Regions from separate parts of the Homo sapiens genome. Here region 1 is linked to region 2. The links are contacts of gene promoters, found by promoter capture Hi-C in blood cells and fetal thymus (Javierre and others, 2016). All regions are on one chromosome and are shown on one strand. The core of a region is centred on a gene start or on the middle of the fragment in contact, and the rest is flanking DNA. Distances in the headings are between cores, read along the strand shown. Region 1 holds the start of METTL9 (methyltransferase 9, His-X-His N1(pi)-histidine). Region 2 overlaps SDR42E2 (short chain dehydrogenase/reductase family 42E, member 2).

What was found. Contacts are between HindIII fragments. The CHiCAGO score rates a contact against its expected background, and 5 or more counts as called.
Region 1: a contact is called between the fragment with the promoter of METTL9 here and a fragment that was not itself captured in region 2, in 12 of 17 cell types (fetal thymus, total CD4 T cells, naive CD4 T cells and 9 more). The highest score is 12.8, in fetal thymus.

Annotation. Positions count from the first base shown.
Region 1 is chr16:21,597,148-21,602,535 of GRCh38, forward strand. METTL9 (methyltransferase 9, His-X-His N1(pi)-histidine) reads left to right here and starts at 2,430. Exons shown (of 5, transcript NM_016025.5): 1 at 2,430-2,751. The coding sequence starts at 2,587. LOC101927814 (a long non-coding RNA gene) reads right to left here and starts at 2,238. Exons shown (of 3, transcript NR_110930.1): 1 at 1,509-2,238; 2 at 487-612. RefSeq lists a silencer at 2,417-3,036 and an enhancer at 3,145-3,709. The HindIII fragment of the contact is 7,148 bases long and covers 99-5,388 here.
Region 2 is chr16:22,186,809-22,192,139 of GRCh38, forward strand. SDR42E2 (short chain dehydrogenase/reductase family 42E, member 2) reads left to right here. Exons shown (of 13, transcript NM_001394319.2): 13 at 3,331-4,943. The coding sequence ends at 3,585. LOC124903666 (a long non-coding RNA gene) reads right to left here and starts at 1,204. Exons shown (of 2, transcript XR_007065028.1): 1 at 1,163-1,204. RefSeq lists silencers at 3,329-3,418, 3,509-3,558, 3,699-3,798 and enhancers at 3,504-4,003, 4,259-4,338, 4,839-4,898. The HindIII fragment of the contact is 605 bases long and covers 2,230-2,834 here.

The DNA.
Region 1 (5,388 bases), core at 1,180-3,679, 590 kb before region 2:
CCAGTGGGCAATCTGAACTTCTGCTTCGTATATTTACTCTTGCTGTTTTCGTTTCTCCTCATTTGTAATTCAGGAGGCTCTCTGAGAAGAGACAGCAAAGCTTCTTAGATGGATCGAAAGACCACGAGCTGGGATACCAAGTTCTATGAAAAGGTCAGCTATTGAATTTACTCTGCTACCTTCAGGCAAATCATTTGATCATCGGATGCTCTGGTTTCTTCCTGTGCCTGCTAAATGTAAATAGCATGGGTTTGAGTGTTTGGTGGTTATTATAGAGTATTTTAAATGTATGAGTGATTTATTTTTCTAGGCCAGCTGCTCAGATATAAAACAAAATCTGCTCCTTTGAGCTGTTAGGCTTCGTGGCAGTCAACTGACCCCAAAATCCTTCTGACTACAGCAGCCATCTACTTGCTTGTTCATCTGATAACATTTTGCAGTCTCTCAGCTACAGCTATGTGGTCTCACTCTATAGCTGGGGCATACCTTTTTGTCTCCTTTGTCTTCAGAAAGGAAATATGCCATTTTATGCACTCCTGCTGCTTTCACCCCCACTTTAAAAAGATGAAGGCTTCCTTTTGTGACAGAGTTGCTTTGTCTGTTACACTGATCCTAAGAGACAGGAAGGAGAGGTGTCATAGTAAATAAACAGTTATTGGACTTGCTACCATAGTTCCTTTTTGATGACTTGGGCCAGGACCACTAGAGGTTTGAACTAGATTTAGTAAGGCTTGGGCTTTTCGGGGTTTTGGCAGGAAGCAGTCAGGGAGTATATTGGAAAGAGAGAACACAAAATACCGAACCCCACCCACCCTGTGCCTTTTTGTTTGTTGTTACAGCCTGTTACATTAGGCAACAAGATATCCTTGTTAGCCAAAGGTGCCAAGCTGAGATTCTTAAAAGCTAATGAAAGAGCTGTTGGGCCAGGTGCGGTGGCTCACGCCTGTAATCCCAGCACTTTGGGAGGCCGAGGCAGGCGGATCACGAGGTCAAGAGATGGAGACCATCCTGGCCAACATGGTGAAATCCCGTCTCTACGAAAAACACAAAAATTAGCTGGGCATGGTGGCGCGCACCCGTAGTCCCAGCTGCTCGGGAGGCTGAGGCAGAAGAATTGCTTGAACCCGGGAGGCGGAGTTTGAAGTGAGCCGAGATCGAGCCACTGCACTCCAGCCTGGAGACAGAGCGAGACTCCACTCCGTTTCAAAAAAAAAAAAAAAAAAAAGCTGTTGGGTAAGGAATGATTTTGTTCCCCATCTGTGGCTCACCACCCCACTGTTTCATAAATGAAAATCTCTGATGTGCAACGCTGAATTAACCAAAAGGCTTACTTCTTTTGTTTTGAACTTAGACACATTTACATTATTTCTGGTGCAGTTAAATTAAAAGCACTTTCCAAACAAACCTAGGAAAGTATTAAAGTTAGGGACTCCCACGAAATGTTACTCCTTAATTGTGGCTTGGATAATAGCAGGAAGAACTGCAGACAGGAACACAGTGTAACTAACCCTTCAGTTCTGAAATGTTGCTAGGTCTCCTCGTGTTATAAATGATCAAATAAATATCCGGGTTAAACACTGCTCCCAGAGCTGAGTTCACTCTTAAGAGTGTTGGGTCCAACTTCCCTGTGCTAATTCAAGGAAACAAGGCAGCCAAGGAGTCTAACTTGAGGTCTTCATTCTTGGGCAGGGCCATCAATACATCTAAAACATTACTTGTGGGTACCCCAGCTGCGGTAGCTTCCCCAAAAGGCAGAATTTTCACTCATTCTTTATAGAAACACGTAGCCAGCAACTTCTCAGGCTTGGGGAACGGGGCAGGCGGGTCGTGGTGGTGGGGAGAGTAGAGGAGGGAGTCTGGCAGGTCGGTTCTAAATGTAAACTGGAAACTACGCATCCGAGCGGGCAACCATCACTGGCACCATTCGTCTCCGGGAAGAACCTGTGTGTGTCAGGATGCACGAAAGGAATGACTCCCCTCTTTGCGCCCCCGGGGTTAACTGCACGACCCTGTCAAAGTCCCGCCGTGGAGTGGGATGAGGGTCGAGAGGTAACCCTGTCAAAGTCCCGCCGTGGAGTGGGATGAGGCGAGGAAAGACTGGAGGTCCTTCCAGCACCACCTTGGAGGGGCAGGGAGGCTGCAGTTACCGCCTTCGGAAGTGATCTCCTCAGCCCTCAAAAAAATTAAAACCACCTCCGCCATTTACTAGAGGCCAAGGCAGGGCCGGGACACGAGAACGCGCTCCGGGCGGATGCGCGCTCCCTTTGTCCCGCCTCCCAGCGGCCCGCTCATTGGACGGAGGGAGGGCGCCGGGGGAGAAAGCGACGCGGCCGCTCGTAAGTGCTCCGGATGGAAACTGGTGCAGGGGGCAGCGGCGTTCCGCGGCCGGAAGGGAAGGGGGAGGTGCCGAGGCTGCGCGCCGGCTGCTCCTCCCCACCCCCAGCCTTTGCCCTGAAGGGGGCTGGATGGGCAAGGCGGCCGCGATGGCTCGAGCTCGGGCGGTGGCGGCGGTGGCCGGAGGCGGCGGTGCCTCCTCCTCCTCGCCCCGGCGCCGGCGGTGATCCGAGCGAGCGGCCGCGGCCCCCGATGAGACTGCTGGCGGGCTGGCTGTGCCTGAGCCTGGCGTCCGTGTGGCTGGCGCGGAGGATGTGGACGCTGCGGAGCCCGCTCACCCGCTCCCTGTACGTGAACATGACTAGCGGCCCGGGTGGGCCGGCGGCGGCCGCGGGCGGCAGGAAGGAGAACCACCAGGTACGGGCTGGGGCCGGGGCCGGGGCGGGGGCGTGGCGGCCCGGCCTTCCCGCGCTGGGCCCGGCTATTGTGCGGGACGGCTCCGCGAGGGGGCGGCCCGGCCCTCGCCCCTCCGCCTCGGCCCCTTGGAAAGTTTTCCCCGCGCCTTCCCCGCCGGGCGTCGACTCCGCGAGCCCCGGGCACCCGGCCGCGGCCCCGCGAGCGCCTTTTGTTCCGCAGCGCAGGCGGGGCATGGCCTCCCGGGCCCGATCGTGAGCGGCCCGGAGCCCCGCATTGTTCCTGGGTCCCGGGCGGTGACTGCGGACGCCCGGCAGCGGGACTGGGGAACTTTGGGGCCAGAGCGTGGCTGGGGGCGCCCGCCTGGCACCGAGGCCTGAGACTGAAGAGACCCGGCCAGATCCATTACCCCGAGAAACAAAACGAAAAGCCAGCCCCTCTTGTTGTCTCGTTGAATCCCAGAACGTACAAAGGGTCGTGAAGAAATGTAACTGTACATCGCAAGCCATTGAACTCTCCAGGCTGATTGGGGTGACATTTCTCCCTAAGCACTTAAAAAATGGGTTTGACAGGTTGTCGCTCCCATCCTACGGAACCTTCCCCTCCTACCTAGCAGAGATCTCCTTTAAACTTGGATTTAGTCAGCCTGCTAGAAAGATTGTGTGTGATGAGGAGGAAGATTATGCAAGTTTTACAGGAAGGGTTTTTAAAACAGAACGGGACGGGAGGGAGTTTTAGTTATGCATCGTGAGCGTTACGCTGTGACCGGGTAGGTAGGCTTTTCATTAGCTCAGTCTTGCGCCACTTAAACGTGTACAGGTTAACTGTAGAATTAAGTGAGATATTTCGTATATGACCTTAACATAGTTTGCAGTTAATGTTAAATTCATTGAAAAGAGGCTTTTGAACTCTGCCAGAGTGTTGGCTTGTCATAGCTAGCATTTATAATACATTTTGCTTTTCCATAGAGTATTAATTATTCCCTATATCATCTTGTGTCTCATCATTTTCATATATTTCTCATTTTCCTACATTACTTTTTTATTATGCCAGGTGTTCAGAGAATTTACACCCAGGTTGATTTCATGTGTTTTAATGAGGGTAGAGAATTGTCTAAGAAGGAGATAGAGCAATTTAGAAAAGTAGCATTTAGTCTTTAGTAATATGTATATTGGGCTTTTTTCTATTGTTAAAGGAATCCTAAATTTCTGTAAATTTTTTTGAAAGCCTCCAGCCATTGCAGTTTGTTAGGTGCAATATCAGTATCATTGATCACTTGTATGATATGGTTAGGAATGTATGTAAACTTAAATTGCAAAACCACATTTATTCCTATGGATTATTTGCTTACACTAGTTCATTCTTATAGAGACAACTCAAAGGTACTGTACCGTTGACTGTACAGTTACCAGAATGTCACATATGGAACAATGGGGTAGACAATGAATTAGAAATGTCATTTTTAACATTTTTAAGCAGTTGATAGAAATAAGGTCCTGGATAGGAGAAAAAGCGATTTATCTCCATTGATGGGGGATTATGGTTGAGTCTCTTAGCTATTGGTATTTATAACACTTATCATGATTACCCCTACTGCAGCCACTTGGTAGGTTTTTAGTGCTCATAAAAGAATTGCACTTATTTTAAAATTGAAACACTATTTCAACACTGTGATGTGTATGGAGGCGGAATTGCAGCTGTAGACATAGCCTCAGAATATCTCCCAGCAGAGGATACTTTCTGACTGTACCTTTTAAAAGCTGAATCTGTTAAGTTCTAATGAAAACTAATACTGGTTTCAGATACGTTTATTTCAGATACCGTATTTATATTCTGTGTGTGTGTGTGTGTGTGTGTGTGTGTGTGTACCCCTTCACTAACAATTCAGCAGATAATTTCTTTAGGGTGAAGACTTAATATGGTGTTTTCTGAATATTTGGGGGATGGGTCAACTCTTTTCCTTAGAATAATGAATCCAGACATTATTTTGACATGAATACATTCATATTATGAAAATAATCGTGCATGAATAAAGATTAAAAGGAACAGAAGAAAGGTGTGTAGAAACCACCATGAGATAAAGTAGGAAACTGTCCTTTCTGCACTGTGGCTGGAGTTGATAATTTGTTTTCCACTTAATATTCCAGGATCCTGGGTTTGCCTTATAACTTCGTTGCTTGTGAAGTAACTGTAACTGTTTTTCCTCCTTCAGATTAATAGTTTTATACAAGGTCTTCTAAGTGTTCAGTTGGGTGTGTGAGTTCCATAGCCAGCCACATCTGGGCCTTTTGGAGTTGCATAAAAGTAGGGTTGTGGATTTGATTGAACCATACTTAGCAAAAGTGTTCCTTCTGGTTATTTTATTAAGGAATTATGATGGAGGATTCTGTGGTTAAAAGAGAGATCTTGGGCAATGTTTATTCGTTAAAAATGGCTATTTTGTTAGTATAGTTTGGAGAGGCAAGGCTCCTTTGGGCTAAAGCTGCTCTAAAACTGTAGTAGCAGTGCCATTTTAGTAACTTGGTTTGGTGTGCTAGCTTCAAAACTGGGATTATGTTTCACTTTGGGCAAGCAAGAAGCAGGGTTTCACTTAGAGCAGGGAAGTGGCTGGGAGGCCAGACTGGTCTCACAGACTTATTT
Region 2 (5,331 bases), core at 1,282-3,781:
GTTATGGGACCTAGGCCCTGCTCCCCATCCCTCCCTTCCTACCTCTCCCCACCATCCCCACTGCTGCCACTCCTTACCCCTTTGACACCATGATGACACATGCTTGTCTGAAGTCTCAGAACTTTCCATGTGGGCCCAAAGCTGGTGCTAGCTCTGTTATGATCACCCCAACCTCTGGGCTTTTGCTGAGGCTGTGCTTTCTGGGTCTGAAATGTGACAGCTCCAAGCCTATCCATCATCACTGTTTCTTCATTCATAAGCATCTTGTCTTTCCAGCCAGACTGGAGGTTCCCAAAGGCAAGTTTCAGGCCATTCACTTCTTTGAATGCTACCAATCCCACCAACTCTCAACACATACATACACACACACAACAGCCTGGTGGTCCTAGGCTCATAGTTCATGCTTACTGAATAATGAGTATATATTAAGTACCTACTACATACAGAATATAATTATTTTTATGAGACAGGGTCTCACTATATTGTCCAGGCTGGTTTCAAACTCCTGAGCTCAAGAGATCCTCTTGGCCAGGTGTGGTGGCTCGCACCTATAATCCCAGTGCTTTGGGAGGCTGAGACAGGAGGATCACTTGAGGCCAGGAGTTTGAGACCAGCCTGGGCAACATAGCAAGACCTCATCTCTACAAAAAATTTTAAAATTAGCCAGGCAAGGTGGTGCATGCCTTTAGTCCCAGCTCAGGTGGGGGATTACTTGAGCCCAGGAGTTCAAGGCTGCAGATTGCACCACTGTACTCCAGCCTAGGCAACAGATGGAGATCCTGCCCCTAAAAACCAAAAAAAAAAAAAAAGATTCTCCCCCCTCAGCCTTCTAAATAGCTGAGATTACAGGCATGCACCACCATGCCTGGCTCAGAATACTATTCTCATAATAATGATGATGCAGGTTTATATTTGCTTAGTTAAAAGAGAGGATGTTTTCATCACAGATTGTAAATAGCAAAGTAATCGGTGGTATTTGAGGTTATTTGCAAAAATCCTTCCAGTCCAGTCGGGCACGGTGGCTCACACTTGTTCCCAGCACTTTGGGAGGCTGAGGCGGGTGGATAACCTGAGGTCAGGAGTTTGAGACCAGCCTGGCCAACGCAGTGAAATCCTGTCTCTACTAAAAATACAAAAATTAGCTGGGTGTGGTGGCACATACCTGTAGTCCCAGCTACTCGGGATGCTGAGGCAGAAGAGTCGCTTGAACCTGGAAGGTGGAGGTTGCAGTGTGCTGAGACCACACCATTGTACTCCAGCCTGGGTGACAGCACAAGACTCCATCTAAAAAAAAAAAAAAAATTACTTCCAGTCCACTCTCGTTTTATTGTCTCTGATGCCCTGCTAAGTTAAAAAGGTCAAAAAAAAATCGTGATCTCCATTTTATGATGAAAAATTGAGCACTAGGAAAATTATTTGTCCAAGGCCACACCATACTGGAATTGGCTTCAGACTCCATGTTCAGTGCTCTTTAACAAGGGGAGTCAGAGGGGGAGAGTGGAGAATGGGCCACAGAAAGAAGTAGTCACCTATGGCTTCTCCTTTGAGCCATCCGGATCAGTGGAGGAGAGAATAAGATGATACTGACAATCTCTTGAGTTGTGACAGTATGCCAGGCACTGTGCTTTATCTCATTTAACTGAGTTGTAGACAACATTGTCCTCTCCATTTAGAGAGGAGGAAATGAGACACACAGTGAAATAACCTGCCCGTGATCACTCACTTAAATGGTAGAGCTGGGATTTGAACCCAGACCTCAGTGATTTCAAGCTTAACCATTAGCTTGTGAAAATGCATCAGGAATCACATCCACATAAAATAGCTGCCAGGGTGCAGCTGAATTGTGGTCAGGCAGGGACTTGGCTCCTCTCCCTCTTGTTTAACTTGGGGATTTCCTTGTTCAGCTCAGGGGCAATGTCCTTAACTGTGGAAGTTCCTTGGCTGTGGCTCGGGTACCCTCTGCTGGTCAATCTGTGACACATCAACCAGCCCTCCAGTTTGACTTTATAGCCTTTTATGCATTTAACATAAATGTTACCAGGCACTGTGCTGAGCAACGGAGGCAAGAAGACATAGTCCTTGCCCTTAGGGAGCTCCTAGTTCAAAGGGGAAGACAGCCCACTAACCAGGCAACTCAACACTGTAATTAGAGCCATTCTTGGGAAAATCGCGAGAAACTCCAGTGCACACAGAAGGGGCGCCTCAGCCAACTCTGAGGAAGTCAGAGAAAGCTTCCCAGAGGTGACATCTAGAGACATCTAGGTGTATTAGGGACCCTGCTTATCTAGCGTAACTCAACTCCTGTGCTCCCCAAAGCCCTGCACTTACTGACTAGGAAAAAAAGGGACAAATACTGGCCTCTCTCCTCACCCCCCATTAAGCATCCAAGACCACAGGTTTGACCCCAGGGGCTGTTTCAATGCCATGGGAGAATCCAGCAGCTGGTGGATTCTTCCCCAGGGTCCGGCTGAGGAAAAAGAGAGGAAGAAATGAGTCAGGTGGGAGAACATCTCCAGGTGCCAGCACAGCAGAGAAGAAATTAGGCTAGAACCTGGCTCCCCTGTGCGACCCCAGGCAAGTCACTCAACCTCTCTGACCTTTTTCCAAGTATGCACAGAACAGATAGTGCTAGTACCACCTGAGAGGATTAAATGAGGTAGGGCATAGAAAGGATTTAGTCCAGGCCAAATGCAGGGTGTGTGTTCCTTAACTGCTGATAGCTATCATTACTACCCTTCAAACCAGTGGGCCCCAAGCCATCTGGCAGCAGGGGAAACACAGCTTAGACCCTGGAGAGCAATCAGTTCTGCATAATCGAATTCCTCTCTTAGGGAAGCTTAGTTAATAAGCGAGGGCATGAAGGCTGCGACTGGGGCCCTCCTGGTCACAGTTGGTCTGGGGTTGGGGGCAGGAAGCCAAGGTCGTTTCCTGCAGATGTTTCTGGCAGGCGTTCACCTTCTCCTAGCGGATGCCTAAGAATGTATCAAGGGCCTCCTGAGTCCCAGCACCGTGCTAGGCCGGGAAGATGAGTGTAGGGGTGAGACCTTTGCTTCTTAGGGACCAAGGAGTTAAATAGGGTGCGAATTCAGCGGGGCTGGAGGGGGCGACGCAAAGGCGGCACCCTCCAATAAAAATGAACATGTAAGGAAGAAAGGAAGACCTCTCTAATGAGGGCATCGCAGGAGCAAGACGCTGCACTCGGGTCCTTTTAAATCACTATGTAATGGAGGGGAAATCCCTGCCCTCTCTTTTCCCTTTCCGTAAACAACGAAGTAGAGGATGTCCTCCTCCCACGAGGCCCGCCCTCGGATGCCCCGCCTGTCCCCGCAGGTGCGCAGCGTGGCCGTGACGCACACCTTCCAGATAGCCAAGGCCCGCGCCCAGCTCGGCTACGCGCCGGATAAGTTTAGGTTCGCCGACGCCGTGGAGCTATACGTGCAGTCCACGACCCGGCGGCCCCGCGGCTCCACGGCGCGGACCCTCCTGCGCCTGCTGCTCAGGCTGCTGCTGTTCCTCGGCTTGCTCGCCCTGGCCCTGCACTTCCTAGGCCTGCAGCCTCTGCACGCCGCCGTGGAGCGCCTGTGACCGTCCGCCGTCCGCCGCCCGCTAGGGTCGGCCCCGCTGCACCCTCGCCCACGCCCGGCTCCCTGGGCTTGTACCAGCCCCTGCCCCGCCTTCTGGGTTTGAGCGCGCCTCCGCTCCGCCCCTTGAATCCTGGTCACGCCCCCGAGCCGCTCTCCAGACCTAGCCCGGACCGCCGACTTCTGGCCACGCCCCTATCTACTCCCAGACCTTGCCTTGCGCCCTTCCTGTGTTTTGGCCCCGCCCCTGTCCTGTCCCGCCCCGCCCTCCGAAGTGGGCACGCTCCTGCTCCGCCCCCTGAATCCTGGCCACGTCCCTGGTCGGCCCAGACGCGTAGCCCCGAGTCTCTTTCCATGTTTTGACCACGCCCTTGACCCGCCCTTCAAATTGGGCACGCCTTCTTCCCCGCTCACTGATTTCCTGGCCTAGCCCCTGAGCAGACCTCCAGACCTAGCCCCGCCCCCGTTTTATAACCCCGCCCCTGCTTCACGGCTTGGGCACGCCTCTTCCCCGCCCCCTGACTTCAGAGCCTAGTCCTGAGCCGCTCTCCAGGCCTAACCCCGCCTTCATGTCATAGCCACGCCCCTTCCCGCCCTTCCATGTTTGGGCACGCCTTCTGAGTCCTGGTCACGCCTCTGTCCCGCCCCCTGAATCTTTCCTACGTCCATGACCCTCCCTCCAGGCCCTGGCCCTGCCCCTTTTTTCCTCCCTCCGGCCTGTCCGGTTTCTGATATGGGCCAAGGCTCACAGCTTCCTCCGCCTTCTGGACCTTCTCCTAGTCCCTGCCCAGTCCCGGCCCACCCCCAGATTCTCCCTCATTCTGGTTTCGCCCCCTTTCTGGTCCTCCCCGCGCGCTTGAGCCCACCCTTTGGCTTCTCCTTTTGGGTCTGTCCTTGCTCCTGCCTCTGGACCCGGTCCCGCCCTTCTCGCGTGTAATTGAGTCCTGGCCCCGCCCCCTCCCTCTCTGGCTTCACCCCTTTCCAGCTCCGCCTCCCGGGTAGGTTCTCCCCGGAACCAGGCTGCCGCGTCGCTATGGGCTAACGCAGGCTCGGGTGACGTTGGTATGAGTTTGCGCCGTCGGCTGCTGCTCTGTCTGGTAACATTGCATTCGATCCACCCCGACCCAATGTTCTGGGCTTCTCATTCACACAGATCTGTGTGTTGACAGCCAGGGTTTGGGGAAAAACCGAGACTCAAGCTTCTGCCGAGCCCGACTTGGCCTTTTTGGGTTCCTGTCTGAGGATGACAGCATAGTAAGCACAGGTTTTAGTACCAGAAAGAGCATGAAAAATTTAAAAAAAAAAACTCTTAAAATAATTGGATGTCTCGATGAAGTACCAATAAAGCTATAATGGGAAAAATAGAGTTTAGTTGGTTATATTTTATGATTTAGTACTGTTTCTATTTATTAATTAGAGGTAGTGGTAATCACCATAATCTTTAAAGTTTAAGGTCACGAAACTTCTTTATCTAGCCCTGCTCTCCACAGAAACTTCGCCTCCTATCATCTTGGTATCAGTTATCAGTTGTAAGTACCAAGACATCAGTGTGTAAATACAACCATGTATAGATCATAATATGCACACGTGGGACTGGCAGAGAAGAAAAGCACCACAAGCCTGAGGTGGATGGGATCGAAAGGGCTCATCAGAACCAACATGGCCACCGCAGTGTGTGTCCCACTCTGCTGAACAAGGTGAGCAGTTTGGGAAGGAGCTAAAAAAAAATGTATGCTCCTCTCTGCTAGGC